Linked DNA regions of Homo sapiens: regions 1, 3, 4 and 5 are each linked to region 2. Evidence: promoter capture Hi-C in 16 types of primary human blood cells and fetal thymus (Javierre and others, 2016). All regions are on one chromosome and are shown on one strand. The core of a region is centred on a gene start or on the middle of the fragment in contact, and the rest is flanking DNA. Distances in the headings are between cores, read along the strand shown. Region 1 holds the start of IRF1 (interferon regulatory factor 1). Region 2 holds the start of SHROOM1 (shroom family member 1). Region 3 overlaps MIR3936HG (MIR3936 host gene). Region 4 overlaps SLC22A5 (solute carrier family 22 member 5). Region 5 has its middle 3.0 kb from the start of IL5.

Region 1 (2,700 bases), core at 29-2,528, 340 kb after region 2:
GAGTTTTGGATGGAAAATGAACACCCAGTCAAGTCTCTAGGACTATACGTGGGGCGGGGACTAGTTGTGCGCGAGAGTTAAGTAGGGGCCTTACCAAGGAGCATGGGACCTGGGCTCCCCAACCCTTTGGCTAGCCCCATGGCGTTGATCAGCCCTGAGCTAATTCCTCCATGCTGCCCAGAACCTCTCTGGGCCAAGCCCTGGGGACTCAGAGATGACAGCAATGCTTCCATTGCGGAACTCCCATACGCGGGCCACAGGGAGGCTCTGGAGGCGGCCTGAGGCAAGAGTGCTAGGAGGGATCAGAGCTAGCCCACCCCTACCCTCACTCAGCCGTCTGGGCTTCTCTGAACCCCTTCTCCTCCTCTGTTCCCTAAAGCCAGCCAGGGGGAGTCCCAGGGAGGCAGACCGAAAAGGGGTGGGGTGTCATCCTGGTCACTATTAGACCCTGCAACGGCGACCTTGAAAACTACTCAGCGTCTGTTGCCCGAGTGGAGCATAGTGCTTTACAATCTCTTCCCATCACAGCAAACCATCAAGGTAGGGCTACTATTATTTTATGGTTGAAAAACAGAGGTCCTGCGTCCCTTGGGGGCTGTGCCAGCAGCGGCCAAGTTGGGATTTCCCCTGGTCCAGCAGCCCCAGACAGCACACGGGGCAGGGTAGGCTTTCTGCCTTCTTCACTTCCCCAGGGCAGGTGAGTGACCTGGAGGGAGGGGGTCACCCCTAAAAACAGGGGTAGTGCTAGGACTGAAACCCTCCCTTCTTGATATCCCACTGGCAAGCTTGAGGAGCCAGGCTGCCAGTCGGGAGATTCGGCCCAGTGTTCCCACTGGAGAGGGCGGCAAGTGCCCGGGCGATCCCCTCACCTGCGTTCGGGAGATATACCCCCGCCCCCGCCCCGCCAGGAGGGTGAAAAGATGGCCCCAGGAGCCAGCCGGCTGGGACAAGGCGGAGTGAGAGGACAGGCTGGGGCCAGGGGCGCTGGGCTGTCCCGGGCAGCCCTCCTCCGGGCAAGCCGGAGCAGGGGTGGATTGGGAGCGCTCGGGGCGGGCCCGCGGTGGCCCCGGGGCGGTGGCGCCCGGCCGGAGAGGGTGGGGCGGAGCAGCCGCCCTGTACTTCCCCTTCGCCGCTAGCTCTACAACAGCCTGATTTCCCCGAAATGACGGCACGCAGCCGGCCAATGGGCGCCCGCGCGGCTGTCCGGGGGCGGGGCCGGCCAGGGCTGGGGAATCCCGCTAAGTGTTTGGATTGCTCGGTGGCGCCGCTGCCCTGGCAGAGCTCGCCACTCCTTAGTCGAGGCAAGACGTGCGCCCGAGCCCCGCCGAACCGAGGCCACCCGGAGCCGTGCCCAGTCCACGCCGGCCGTGCCCGGCGGCCTTAAGAACCCGGCAACCTCTGCCTTCTTCCCTCTTCCACTCGGAGTCGCGCTCCGCGCGCCCTCACTGCAGCCCCTGCGTCGCCGGGACCCTCGCGCGCGACCGCCGAATCGCTCCTGCAGCAGAGGTGAGTACGCCTTTGAGGCGCGGGGCACCGGCGGCGTCGAATAAAAGGCGCGCGGGGCACCAGGAAGTGGGGGGTCGAAAGCTCCAGGCTGGAGACTCGCCGGCGCGCGGCGTTGCCCGGGCCTCCGCGCGGGCTCCGGGGGGCGCCGGAGGAGCTGCGAGCCGCGGGCCGCGGCGCGGGGAGGGCGGGACGCGGCGTGGACCGCCCACCCGGACGAGGCTGCCGGCGCCCGGCAGCTTTCGCAGATCTGCGTGCGCGCAGCCGCCAGGGGCCTGTAGGTGGCCCGCTATGTTCGTCCCGCGCATCCACACGCCGTGCCGGGGACCGAGTGTCAGCCCACGCGTGGGCGCCCAGTGCTCCCGGCTTTCGGCGGTCCCAGCTCCGCGCCCAGGCGACAGGTTTTGGGCTCCCTGTGCTGGTGGCAAGGGCTGGCTTACTGCCCAGGTGGCTGGAGGGAATCGTGACCTACGGAGACTGCGGGAAGAGGCGCCACAGGTGTTCCTTGGGCCACTTCTCCAGAGGAGGGGAAACCGGGCCGGAAGGGTTAGCGTCCTGGTCTTAGCGTTGTGGGCGCTGTGGCTGTCAGGAAGGCGTAGAATGGATTCAGGGGGGCGGGAGGGGGCTGTTCAGGGTGACGGCTAGCCCTTTGCTAGCTAGTGGTTACAACTCAAGTCAAGGGAATTTCTTCTTGGCATCAAGCAAAAGAAGTCCCTCCCTTCCCAAAGGATTTGAATTTTGAGCGAAAAGTTCTGAAATTAGGGTATCTGTGCATTTTGTCTCTTTTCCTGCATATGAATCCTGAAGCCATCACTTGCATGCCTGTCTCCTCCAGAGACTGGCTGGGAGGGGCTGAAGGAAGGGGCAAAAGCATTTTTGCCTAAGATGCTGAAAAAATTTGGAGAGCAGTTTTATTCCAGCGCAGCTCCCCTCCGCACTGAGTGTAGTACCTAGCAGCTGGCTGAGGTGAGGGGAGGGTAACTAAGTGACCTCGGGTGGGGCAGGTCACTGCCCAGGTACTGTTCAACAGATTCCAGACTGGAGCCTCTGTGTTCTCTTTACAGCCAACATGCCCATCACTCGGATGCGCATGAGACCCTGGCTAGAGATGCAGATTAATTCCAACCAAATCCCGGGGCTCATCTGGATTAATAAAGTGAGTGTAACTCTTTGGGTTTTCCTGCCACTGTTTTAACC
Region 2 (2,731 bases), core at 58-2,557:
CTCCAGCCTGGGCGACAGAGGGAGACTCTGTCTCAAAAAAGCAAAACAAACAACAAAAGTCTTTCAAAGCCGAAAGGTTCTTAGGCACTGTCTTAAAGCCTAGCGCTCCAGCTGAAGCTGGTGCCTGAGTCCAGATGGTGTTGAAGAAGGAGCAGGGCCCAGCGGGCACCACTCTCAGAAGTCGGGCTCAGGTGTCTCCTGCCTCCGAACCCAAGAAGACCCAAGAAGACAGAGTTCCTCAGGCTCCCAGTGTCCCTAGGAAGTGGCAACCTTGACTCTTGGCCAGAGTTCAGAGTCCTGGTTATTAACACCAATAAACCTTTATTTGCCAGGGATACTACCATGGGAGGACACAGCCCCTGAGCCCAGCCCTGTTGATCCTGTGGGAGCGGGAGGGCAGCGGAGGACAAAGGCAGAGACCTGAGAGCCGGAGAGGCTCATCAAAGGGTCCCCAGCCCCTCTCAGGAACGGAGCATTTCTTGGCAGAGTGGTATTCATAGGACAGAGTTTGGGAAGTCGGGGCAGGGGAGCCTGAGGACACAGCAAGGAGAGCTCAGTGGCAGGTGCAGGCAGAGCGTTCTTTGGAAAATGGAGATCCTGGAAGGTGAGGGCCTCGAGCGCCAGTGTCCAGCCTTAGTGGGTATGCATATGTCCAGCTCCCTAAGGACACACTCAGGACAGCTAAGGTGCACACAAGTCCAGGGGCTTCCCCGTGCTCCGCCCCCCTCTCCCCCACCCCGGTAGCAGGCTGGAGGGCCCAGACCATGCTGGGTAGTGGGAGAAATGGAAAGAAATGGGACAGGGAACAGGAGACAAGAGCCCATGGTGGGAGTCAAAGAGCTGGAAGAGTTTTGGAAATGGGGGTCTGGGGGTAGAGTTGATCAAGGGCCGAGTTACTCAGCGGGACAGGTGGGAGGCACGAGGCCCTGGCAGCTCTGTTTTCTTGGCCGGGCTTGGGGGGGAAAGCGGGTAGCCGTCAGGCGCCTAAGGGCCCGCCCTGGACCTCCCCACCGAGGGAGGTGTCAGGCCCCGAGGGACCCGGCCCCCGAGCATCACGGACGCGCTGGAGGCCGGTGGGCGGTCGCCGTAGTCGCCCTCCCACCACCTCGCTCAGGTTTCTCCGGCCTGGGGCAAGAGGCCTGTGGCCCGCGCGGGAACGCACTGTCCACCCTCAGACCTGGGACTGGGCCGGCGCGCGGACGCTACCAAGAGGCTGCGGCTCCCGCCCCCGCGGCCGGACGTGGCGCCTCCCCTGAGGCCGCGGCCGGAGCCTGGAGGTGGGGTCGGAGTCAGAGCCCGGGGCTCTGATGTCACCGCGCGGCTGCGACGGCCCAGGAGCGCGTCTCGGCGGGAGCCTCAGGTACGCGGCGGGGGCGGGGGAGCGGGAAGCGGGCGGCTGGGTCCGCTTCCCCCGGGAGGCCGGCGGGGCTGCGGGCGGACGGGGGTGAAGAGCGGGCGGCGAGGCGGTGGTCGCGGGGCAGCCCGGGCATCGTTCGGCCGGGACGTGTCTGGCTCGGCGCCGCGTCAGGTTGCGCCAGTGGAGTCGGACCCCAGCGCGCCTCTCCCAGCTGCAGAGCTGCAGGGCGGAGAGGCGGCCCACTCTAAGCTGGCGGCGCGGCTCAGGGGCGCGGCTGGGCGCGCCGCGTGTGGCGCCGGCGGGCAGCGCGGTCTCACTCCGCCACCCTCCGCTCCTGCCCTTTGTCGCCAAGCATCTGGAGAAGCCGGGTCCTTCCCTCCCGGGCTCGCGCTGTCCCCTGCGCGCGATCCTTCCCCGACGGTGAACCCAACGGGAAAGGCCCAGAACTGCGCGGGGCTGCGGCCATCTGCTGTCGAGCCGCTCCGCGTGTCTCTGCCGCCCCCTGCGGCCGCCGGGGCCTGCGCCTCTCTCCCTCCCGTGCCTCGGCTCCCAGAGATTGAACCCCAGGTAACCGGGTCTGTCCACGCCCGCGGCCGCCTCTCCCCGGGTGTCGCCAGCTTCCTGCATTTCCTGTGCATGGCACGGAGCTCGGGTCTCCAGAGACTCTGCATCTGGGGTGCAGCGACCGATGAGCCCGTAAACCAGTCGCACACTCGGAGCGTGGATGCTGCGTGGGGTGCGCTGTCAGCGCGGACAGGCTGGGAGAACGGGGGACGCTGGGGACAGGGAGAGCCGGTGAACTTCCCAGAACGTCCGCCTAGCCAGACCCAGCTGCGGGTACTGGGTTTTGAGACGTGGTCCAGTACCCAGGAACTCAGTCTGACAGGGAGACAGCGCCTACACAGTGAGCCCAGTACTGAGGGAAGACCCGCTGGGAGGGGCGGCCTGGATAGCCCCTCCACAGAGAGGTCAGATGTGAGGTGGCCTTGAGGGAGGTATGATGTAAATCCTGATCATTCGTTGTATTTGAGGCTGTCCGTTCTCCTGTGCCTCCTCGGTCGCCTTACTTGGATCTGTTCCCATTGCCTTGGTGTGATTTTATCCACCGGAAACTGTCTTCAGCTATTTCCCCAGTAACCTCTAACTAAAAACCTGGGTCTTGCCTGGTCTACCCTCCCCTGCTGAACTCCAGAGCCACATCCCAACTGCTGCCTGACTTGTCACAGACACCATGAAGCCCAGACTGAAGGAGCACTGGCCCCCTTGACAATTCCTCAGCCCCAGCTCCTCCTTTCAGACTGGTGCCTCCACCTGCCAGACCCCTAGCTTTGAAGGCCAATCTCATCTTCGTCTCCTTCCTCTCTGGCTCCTTCA
Region 3 (2,746 bases), core at 153-2,652, 470 kb after region 2:
ATCCCCATAATTTTTTATAATCCTTTCAGCAGTCTGTTAAATATAACCTTGGTGATAAGCTAAGTTACCTCAGCATAGCAAGCTTGGCTTGGTCTAAATCAGGGTAGAGGTGATTGCTGCTCAAAGGAAGTGAGAGAGACACCCAGCTCTGGATTGGAGAACATGACTTTGACCTGGGTTTCAGCCTCCACAGGGCTAAGCCCCAGGGGAGCACTGGGCAAGTTGCTAAGGCCACAAGCAGGAGTTTATAACCAGGCTAGACTAAGCCCACTGATGCAAGAATTTTTTTTTTTTTTTTTTGAGACAGAGTCTCACTCTGTCACCCGGGCTAGAGTGCAGTGGTGTGATCTTGGCTCACTGCAACCTCCGCTTCCCTGGTTCAAGTGATTCTCCTGCCTCAGCCTCTCAAGTAGCTGGGATTACAGGCACCCGCTACCATGCCTGGCTAAATTTTGTATTTTTTTAGTAGAGACAGGGTTTCACCGTGTTGGCCAGGATGGTCTTGAGCTCCTGACCTCAAGTGATCCACCTGCCTTGGCCTCCCAAAGGGCTGGGATTACTGGCTTGAGCCACCATGCCCAGCCTGATGCATGAATTTGCATTCTTCATGCTCTTCATCTATGCTTCTGAAGACCTGGCACTTAGTCAACACTCAGTAAGTTTTTATTTTTTAACTGCTTTATGATTATAAAAGTAATATATGAAGCATTTGTAAAGTATGGAAATCTGGAAAAAATAAAACAGAAGTCATCTATAATCTGACCATCCAAACATACCTACTGTTAATACCTTAGTCTACGTTCTTTCTTTTTTTCCTTTTTTTGAGATGGAGTCTTGCTGTGTTGCCCAGGCTGGAGTACAATGGCATGATTTCGGCTCACTGCAACCTCTGCCTCCCAGGTTCAAGCAGTTCTCCTGCCTCAGCCTCCCAAGTAGCTGGGCTTACAGGCATCCACCACCATGCCCTGGTAATTTTTGTATTTTTAGTAGAGATGGGGTTTCGCCATGTTGGCCAGGCTGGTCTCAAACTCCTGACCTCATGTGATCTGCCCGCCTCAGCCTTCCAAAGTGCTAGGATTACAGGTGTGAGCCAATGCGCCTGGCCTTTTTTTTTTTTTAAGACAGTTTTGCTCTTTTTGCCCAGGCTGTAGTGCAGTGGTGTGATCTTGGCTCACTGCAACCAGGTTCAAGTGATTTTCCTGCCTCAGCCTTCTGAGTAGCTGGGACTACAGACGCCACCATGCCCAGCTAATTTTTTTGTATTTTTAGTAGAGATGGGGGTTTCACCATATTGGCCAGGTTGGTCTCCAACTCCTGACTTTGGGTGATCCGCCCACGTTGGCCTCCCAAAGTGTTGGGATTACAGGCATGAACCACTGTGCCCAGCTGAGCCTACTTTCTTCTGGTCTTTTTCTCATGCCTCCCCACCACCACCCCAGCCCCCCGCCATTACATACGTATATATGTTTATTTTTTTTTTAAAGAGATGAAGTCTTGCTCTGTTGCCCAGGCTGGTAGGCTGATCTCAAACTCCTGGCTTCAGGTGATCCTCCTGTGTTGGCCTCCCAAAGTGCTGTTGTTACAGGCATAAGCCATCACACCTGGCTATTTTTCACGCTTTAAAAACTCACTTTATTCATTCATTTATTCACTCATTCTTTGATTAACACTCATATACTGGTTTTATTTTATTATTTTATATTTTTAGCTACAGGGTCTCACTCTGTGCCCGAGGCTGGAGTGCAGTGGCATGATCATGACTCTGCAACCCCGAACTCCTGGGCTCAAGGGATCCTCCCAACTCAGCCTCCCAAGAAGTTAGGATTACAGGCACATGCTACCACACCCTGCTAATTTTTTTAAATTAATTTTTTTCTTCCTTTTTTTTTTTTTTTTTTTTTTGTAGAACCAGTGTGTGTTAGGCCATTCTTGCATTACTATAAAGAAATACCTGAGACTGGGTAATTTATTAAGAAAAGAGGTTTAATTGACTCACGATTTCACAGGCTGTATAGGAAGTGTGGCACTAGGCATCTGCTCAGCTTCTAGGGAGGCCTCAGGGAGCTTTTACTCACAGTGGAAGGTGAAGGGGGAGCAGGTGTGTCACATGGTAAAGACAGGAGCAAGGTGGGGGGAGGTGCCACACCCTTAAACAACCAGATTTCTCAAGAACTCACTTATTATGGTGGGGACAGCTCCAAGCCATGAGGGATCTGCCCCCATGACCAAAACACCTCCCAGCAGGCCCCACCTCCAACATTAGAGATTACATTTCCACATGCGATTTGGACAGGGATAAATATCCAGACTATGTCATTTTGCCCCTGGCCCTCCTAAATCTCATGTCCTTCTCAAGTTGCAAAATACAATCATGCCTTCCCAAGAGTTCCCCAAAGTCTTAACTCATTCCAATGTTAACTCCAAAGCCCAAAATTCAAAGTCTCATCTGAGACAAGGCAAGTCTCTTCCACCTATGAGCCTATAAAATCAAAAACAAGCTATATACTTCCAAGTTACAATGGGTGTATAGGCATTGGGTAAACATGCCCATTCCAAAAGAGAAATTGGCCAAAAGAAAGGGGCTACAAGCTCCATGCAAATTCAAAACCCAGCAGGGCAATTATTAAATTGTAAAGCTCCAAAGTAATCTTCTTTGACTCCGTGTCCCATATCCAGGGCTCACTGGTGCAAGAAGTGGGCTCGCAAGGCCTTGGGAAGCTTCGCCCCTGTAGTTTGCATAGTACAG
Region 4 (2,741 bases), core at 182-2,681, 450 kb after region 2:
CCACCGGCTAACCCACCGATTTGTGGGGTGTTCTCACATGTGTCATGTGGCCAAGGACTTGCTGAAGGCTGCTACTCTCTTCACAGTCTTCTCTGACAGACCCTGAAGCTCCAGGGAAAGAAGACACAACATAATGGACCCCTCTAAGAACTTCATGAAAGCTACGGACCTCTCTCCAAAAAAATGCTCACATGTAGTCTCTAACATTGTGCATATAATTTCGAGGGGTTTGGGATTCTCTAAGCCGTTAATGTTTCCTTGAGTTAAAAGCTTTAGAATTATACAAATAACCTGCTTATAAGAAATGGATCAAAACACTATTCTCCCTCCTGTCATAAAGTAAATGCCAAAACCACAGGCCACTTAGCTAAGGGGCATCAGCCTTGTGGACAAAAGAGTTCTGCTTTTCATACCACTAGTGGCTGGTGAGAGCTCCTTTCACTTTGCAGAGAGAATGCTGGTCTTCTTGGGACTACAGAGGCAGACACCGTGGCACTACTACAGATCTACAATCTAGCACATGTGCATGTGTGCATGATGTCAACCTCTCCCATGCTCAGGGGCATGACAGAGTCACAGTGACCCAGGGGAGGCAAGCCAGGCTACTGCAGAAGTGAATCATGGCATATTACCTAGTCAACCGGGTCACAGATACATTCAGCTTAGACAGCTCAGGTTTCTTTACTTAGCAAGAATTACGGAGTCAGATTTGTTGGCTCTTCTTACTAGGCATGGAGTCTATATCACAGACATAGCTTCCTCTTCTTTAAAATACAGGGCCCTGCGCTGAAAGAATACTACCAACTGAAATCAAGGGCCAGGCACACGCTTCTTCCTCAGTGCTGAGGTCCCCTGGTGCTCCAGAAGACAGACACCTTACCTGTCTGACAGCTGCCCTGAAATGAAGGAGCCCAACAGCACACCCACGAAGAACAAGGAGATTGTGAGTGGGGCCTTCCAGTCGTCCTCACACACCAGGTTCCACTGCAAGATGAGCAAAGGGGGTGTATCATTCACTTCTTTTTAAAAGGTTTTAAAGCAAAGGCATCCTGGAAAATGAAGTCAGAACATCCTGCCATCCCCACACGCTCTGAGTGTGAACTCACTTAGTCAGGTGATGGCTCACCTGGGCAGGAAGGCAGAGAGCAGGCTTCTTTCCCATCCTGTTTTTCATAGCATTGTAGGCCCCACTGTCTTGCTTCCATTTTGAGGAGGAGAGACAGGCAGAGAGTAAGTGTTCTGTCCACATGCTGACCCTGGAGAAAGCAAGGCCTCTAACGCTTGCTCCTAAAAATCTGAGCGGAGCCCAGGGCTGTGGAAGAGGCAGGGCACCCTCGCTCAGTGGGGTTCAGGCCATTGGCATGAACGTCACTGGAGTGGTTCTGGAAGCAGGGCTCTGGGGCTCTACGGGCCAAAGCATCCAGCAAGAAACTAAGGCCAGGGCACAGAGTGCACCATCTGGACCTGCTCTGCTCGGGTTCCCACCCTGGGCCAATGACCCCCGGGTCCTTTTTGTGACCTTTAGAGCTGGAATCCCTGATGCTGCACACCAACTATACTAGGCTCAATTACAGCTGAAAGTCCTGAGCTTGGAGGTAAGAAACTGGGTTTTAGCTCCCACTCTACTATTAAAACTCTTCCAACCTCAGATAAGCATCACCCCATGCTGTGCCTTGATTTCCCCATTTGTAAAACAGGGATTGGGGTAAGGAATAGGCTGCACCGCTTGAGTTTCCAGCTTCCAATGTGTGGTTCCATCTATAGTTACCATGAACAGAAAAAGAGGTCTGAAGACATGGGGAAGCAGCCAGACGCTTGGATCTGGCTGCGCCTGCCTAAACAAGAGCCAAAAGCAGGAAGAAAGCCCAAACGGGAAACTTAGTGGTTCACAGAAAAATGAAAAATGTTTTTCAGACAGAGAGATGGTGCTCAGTAGTAACCTTTGCAGACTTCTCACATGAGCAACCACCCTCCTAGGAACTCAGACCCTTGCCTCCCTGGTGCCAGGCTGCTAGCCTGCCCTCCACGGAGCCTGCTGGCTCCTCACCAACAACGCAGGCAAGGGGACATGCGGCTCCCTAGAACAAAGCATCTCTTCCAAGCCAGTGACAGGGAAAAACAAGCCTGCTTCTCCGCACTGCTGGGCAGTGTGGGCGCACAGCCTCCGGGCACCTCTCAGAGGGGTTGGCAGGCAACCCTCAGGCTGGACACGGAGAACTCCCGCAGCAGGCACACTGCTGGTGCTCCGCTTTGGAATAAGCGTGAACCTGGATGGGCTGGGAGTAGGGTGGCAATCCCCAACCCAGGGAAGAACTGGAGCATCCAACCCCTAATCAGGAGGCAGCCCAGACTAGCAGGAGTCAAGAACATGGGAGGACCACAGCCTGACTGCCCAGGCTGCCACAGCCTCCAACCTCCACAGCCTCAGAAGGGCCAGCACCCACAGGCCATCTCTCTGGTAGGTGGGTAAGTATCCCTGCAGTGGCCCCCACCCACACATGGCTGCTAAATCTAGGACTGGGAGTGGAGGCGGAGAAAAAGCTGAGGGAATTGATGACAGGGTGCCGGCCTCTGTGTGTGAGGCCAAGCTTCAGGGGCCAGGACCTGGCTCCTGCCACTCTTGAGTATGATGGGCTCTATTTCCCAGCTAGCATGTCTTTTATAGTGGAAAAGATGAAAACATGAACAAAGGGTCAGCAGCGGTTTCTCACAGGACTATCATGAGGTGAGGGTTGGGGACC
Region 5 (2,700 bases), core at 6-2,505, 280 kb after region 2:
TGCTGACTTCAACCAATCCACCCACCTCAGCCTCCCAAAGTGCTGGGGTTACAGACCTGACCCATCATGCCTCGCCGCAGTATTATTTTTAATACACTTTTTATTTTAAGTAGTTTTAGATTTATAGAGAAGTTTCAAGACTGTTAGAGAGCATTCCAGTGTGCCCTGCACCCAGTTTCCCATTGTTAACATTACTATGGTACAATTGTCACAACTAAGGAACTAATATTGGTACATTACTAAACTCCAGGCTTTTTCCAATTCCCTTAGTTGTGCCCGTTGTCCTTATTCTGTTCCTGAGTGTCATCCATGATACCACATTGTATGTAGTCATCACGTCTCTTAGAGGCCTCTCTGGCTGTGTCAGTTTCTCAGACTGTGCTTGTTTTTGATGACCTTAACAGTTTTAAGGAGTACTGGTCAGGCATTTTGTCTTTCCATTTGGGTATGTGTAGTGTTTGTGTCATGGTTAGGCAGAGGTTACTGGTTTTGGGGAGGAAGATGACAGGGATAAAGTTCCTTTCTTATCACATCAAATCAAAGGTACATGCTGTTAACATGATGTTTCACTGCCACCATTGACTGGGATCACCTAGCTGAAGTAGTGTTTGATCAGGTTTCTCCACTGTGAAGTTATTCCTCTTATTCTCCCCTTTCCATACAGTTCTCTTTTTTAAAAAGTCACTCTGTATATCCCACTCTTAATGAAAGGGGGTTGTGTTCCATCTCCTTGAGGGTGTAGTAGCTACATACATTATTTTGAATTCTTGGGCACAGGAGATTAAAATCATTAACTTTTATTTGGAGTTTTGCATTAATAAAGCTCTTTCTTTTTTTTGAGATGGAGTCTCGCTCTGTTGCCCAGGCTGGCGTGCAGTGGCGTGATCTCAGCTCACTGCAACATCCACCTCCCAGGTTCACGCCATTCTCCTGCCTCAGCCTCCTGAGTAGCTGGGACTACAGGTGCCGGCCACCATGCCCAGCTAATTTTTTTGTATTTTTAGTGGAGATGGGGTTTCACTGTGTTAGCCAGGATGGTCTCGATCTCCTGACCTCGTGATCTGCCCGCCTCAGCCTCCCAAAGTGCTGAGATTACAGGTGTGAGCCACCATGCCTGGCCAATAAAGCTCTTTCAAATACATTATTTTACAGGTCCAACTCCGAGACAGTTTACAGTCAGGTTGGGGAGATCACACTTATAGAGGAAAAGTTAATGACACGAAAACTTTATAAGAAATTTAATTTTGTACACCCATGTTCATAGCAGCATTATTCACAATAGCCAAAGGATGGAAGCAACATTGGTGTCCATCGACAGACCATGGATAAACAAAACATGGTATAGACATCCAATGAAATATTATTCAGCCTTAAAAAGGAAGAAAATTGACACATGCTACAACATGGATGAATCTTGAGAATAGACATTATGCTAAATGATATAAGCCAGTCACAAAAAGCCAAGTACTGTATATCAGGTACCTAAAGTCATCAAATTCATAAAGACAGAAAGTAGAAGCGTGGTTGCAAGGTGCTGGGAGAATGGGGGCGGGGGTTGGGAGCTGTTGTTTAATGGGTACAGAGTTTCAGTTTTGCAAGATGAAAAGAGTCCTGGAGATTTGTCACACAACATTATGAATGTACTTAAGGCTACTGAGCTGTACACTTAAAAAAATGGTTAAGATAGTAAATTTTATGTGTATTTTGCCACAATTAAACATTTCTAAAAGAAATACAATTTTGAATAAGAAGTATTTTTTATAACTAGCCTTCCAATAAGAACCCACAGTTTTGCTGTAAAACAGAGGCTGCAAAATGGTACATTATACAGTTGCCAACATTTGAAAAATCCAGAGATTATATATAATAAGCAGGATTTCAGCCTTCCTTTTTTGTTGTTGTTGTTGTTGTTGTGCTTTTTGTTTTTTTGTTTGTTTGTTTGTTTTGAGACAGTCTCACTCTCTTGCGCAGGCTGGAGTGCAGTGGTGCAACCTCAGCTCACTGCAACCTCCGCCTCCTGAGTTCAAGCAATTCTCCTGCCTCAGCCTCCCGAGTAACTGGGATTACAGGCACACACCACCACGCCTGGCTAATTTTTATAAAGGCTTCTTTGAAAAACAGAATGATCGGGTAATGTGAGCCCAGGTGTGTCACCTGGCAACCATCAGCTGGAGCTGAGCAGCACCTGCCACCTTTAGACAGATCATGCATGCTATAGTTTCATGTGACCCCCACCAGCTTTGATGTATTACACCCTGCCCATTTCACTCACTGGTCTTGAACTCCTGGGCTCAAGGGATCCACTGCCTGGGCTTACCAAAGTGCTGGGATTACAGGCGTGAGCCACTGTGTTTAGCCCAATTTTTTATTTTTTCTAGAGATGGAGTCTCACTATGTTGCCTGGGCTGGTCTCAAACTCCTGGGCTCAAGCAATCCTTCTGCTTCAGCCTCCCAAAGTGCTGGGATTACAAGCATGAGCCACCTTGCCCAGCCTCCTATGATAGAATTTAAGCACTCAGAACTTTGTGTATTTAAGGTACTAAAATAACAAGTTATTTGGCAATTCCCCTGAAACTTTCACCTAAGCCCTAACTTCCTCAGTGTAACATAAAGGTGTCAGGGGGAATCAGAGAGAACGCTCTCATATTCTCTGGGAAGAGAAAGCTCCTGCCAGAACTCAGCTTCTTTTCTGAGAATACC

Evidence for each region. Contacts are between HindIII fragments. The CHiCAGO score rates a contact against its expected background, and 5 or more counts as called.
Region 1: the fragment with the promoter of IRF1 here is called in contact with the fragment with the promoter of SHROOM1 in region 2 in 1 of 17 cell types (monocytes); the score reaches 9.5 in monocytes.
Region 3: a fragment that was not itself captured here is called in contact with the fragment with the promoter of SHROOM1 in region 2 in 1 of 17 cell types (neutrophils); the score reaches 6.1 in neutrophils.
Region 4: a contact is called between a fragment that was not itself captured here and the fragment with the promoter of SHROOM1 in region 2, in 10 of 17 cell types (neutrophils, naive CD4 T cells, M0 macrophages and 7 more). The highest score is 8.0, in neutrophils.
Region 5: a contact is called between a fragment that was not itself captured here and the fragment with the promoter of SHROOM1 in region 2, in 2 of 17 cell types (fetal thymus and endothelial precursors). The highest score is 5.5, in fetal thymus.

What each region holds. Positions count from the first base shown.
Region 1 is chr5:132,489,351-132,492,050 of GRCh38, reverse strand. IRF1 (interferon regulatory factor 1) reads left to right here and starts at 1,278. Exons shown (of 10, transcript NM_002198.3): 1 at 1,278-1,506; 2 at 2,568-2,659. The coding sequence starts at 2,573. RefSeq lists enhancers at 27-76, 117-326, 1-463, 597-736, 1,758-2,405 and silencers at 877-1,326, 1,587-1,866, 2,397-2,446. The HindIII fragment of the contact is 1,939 bases long and covers 788-2,700 here.
Region 2 is chr5:132,829,223-132,831,953 of GRCh38, reverse strand. It overlaps SHROOM1 (shroom family member 1), which reads left to right and starts at 1,307. Exons shown (of 10, transcript NM_001172700.2): 1 at 1,307-1,360. RefSeq lists silencers at 999-1,418, 1,629-1,938. The HindIII fragment of the contact is 14,647 bases long and covers 1-2,731 here.
Region 3 is chr5:132,355,579-132,358,324 of GRCh38, reverse strand. The region is part of intron 4 of MIR3936HG (MIR3936 host gene); the gene reads left to right. Among named protein-coding and RNA genes, the nearest start is that of MIR3936, 8.6 kb to the left of the region's middle. RefSeq lists an enhancer at 2-51. The HindIII fragment of the contact is 2,636 bases long and covers 85-2,720 here.
Region 4 is chr5:132,376,621-132,379,361 of GRCh38, reverse strand. SLC22A5 (solute carrier family 22 member 5) reads right to left here. Exons shown (of 10, transcript NM_003060.4): 2 at 881-984. Among named protein-coding and RNA genes, the nearest start is that of MIR3936HG, 8.1 kb to the right of the region's middle. RefSeq lists an enhancer at 2,258-2,741. The HindIII fragment of the contact is 2,318 bases long and covers 273-2,590 here.
Region 5 is chr5:132,545,164-132,547,863 of GRCh38, reverse strand. It overlaps a transcript of IL5 not described here. Among named protein-coding and RNA genes, the nearest start is that of IL5, 3.0 kb to the right of the region's middle. The HindIII fragment of the contact is 4,642 bases long and covers 1-2,700 here.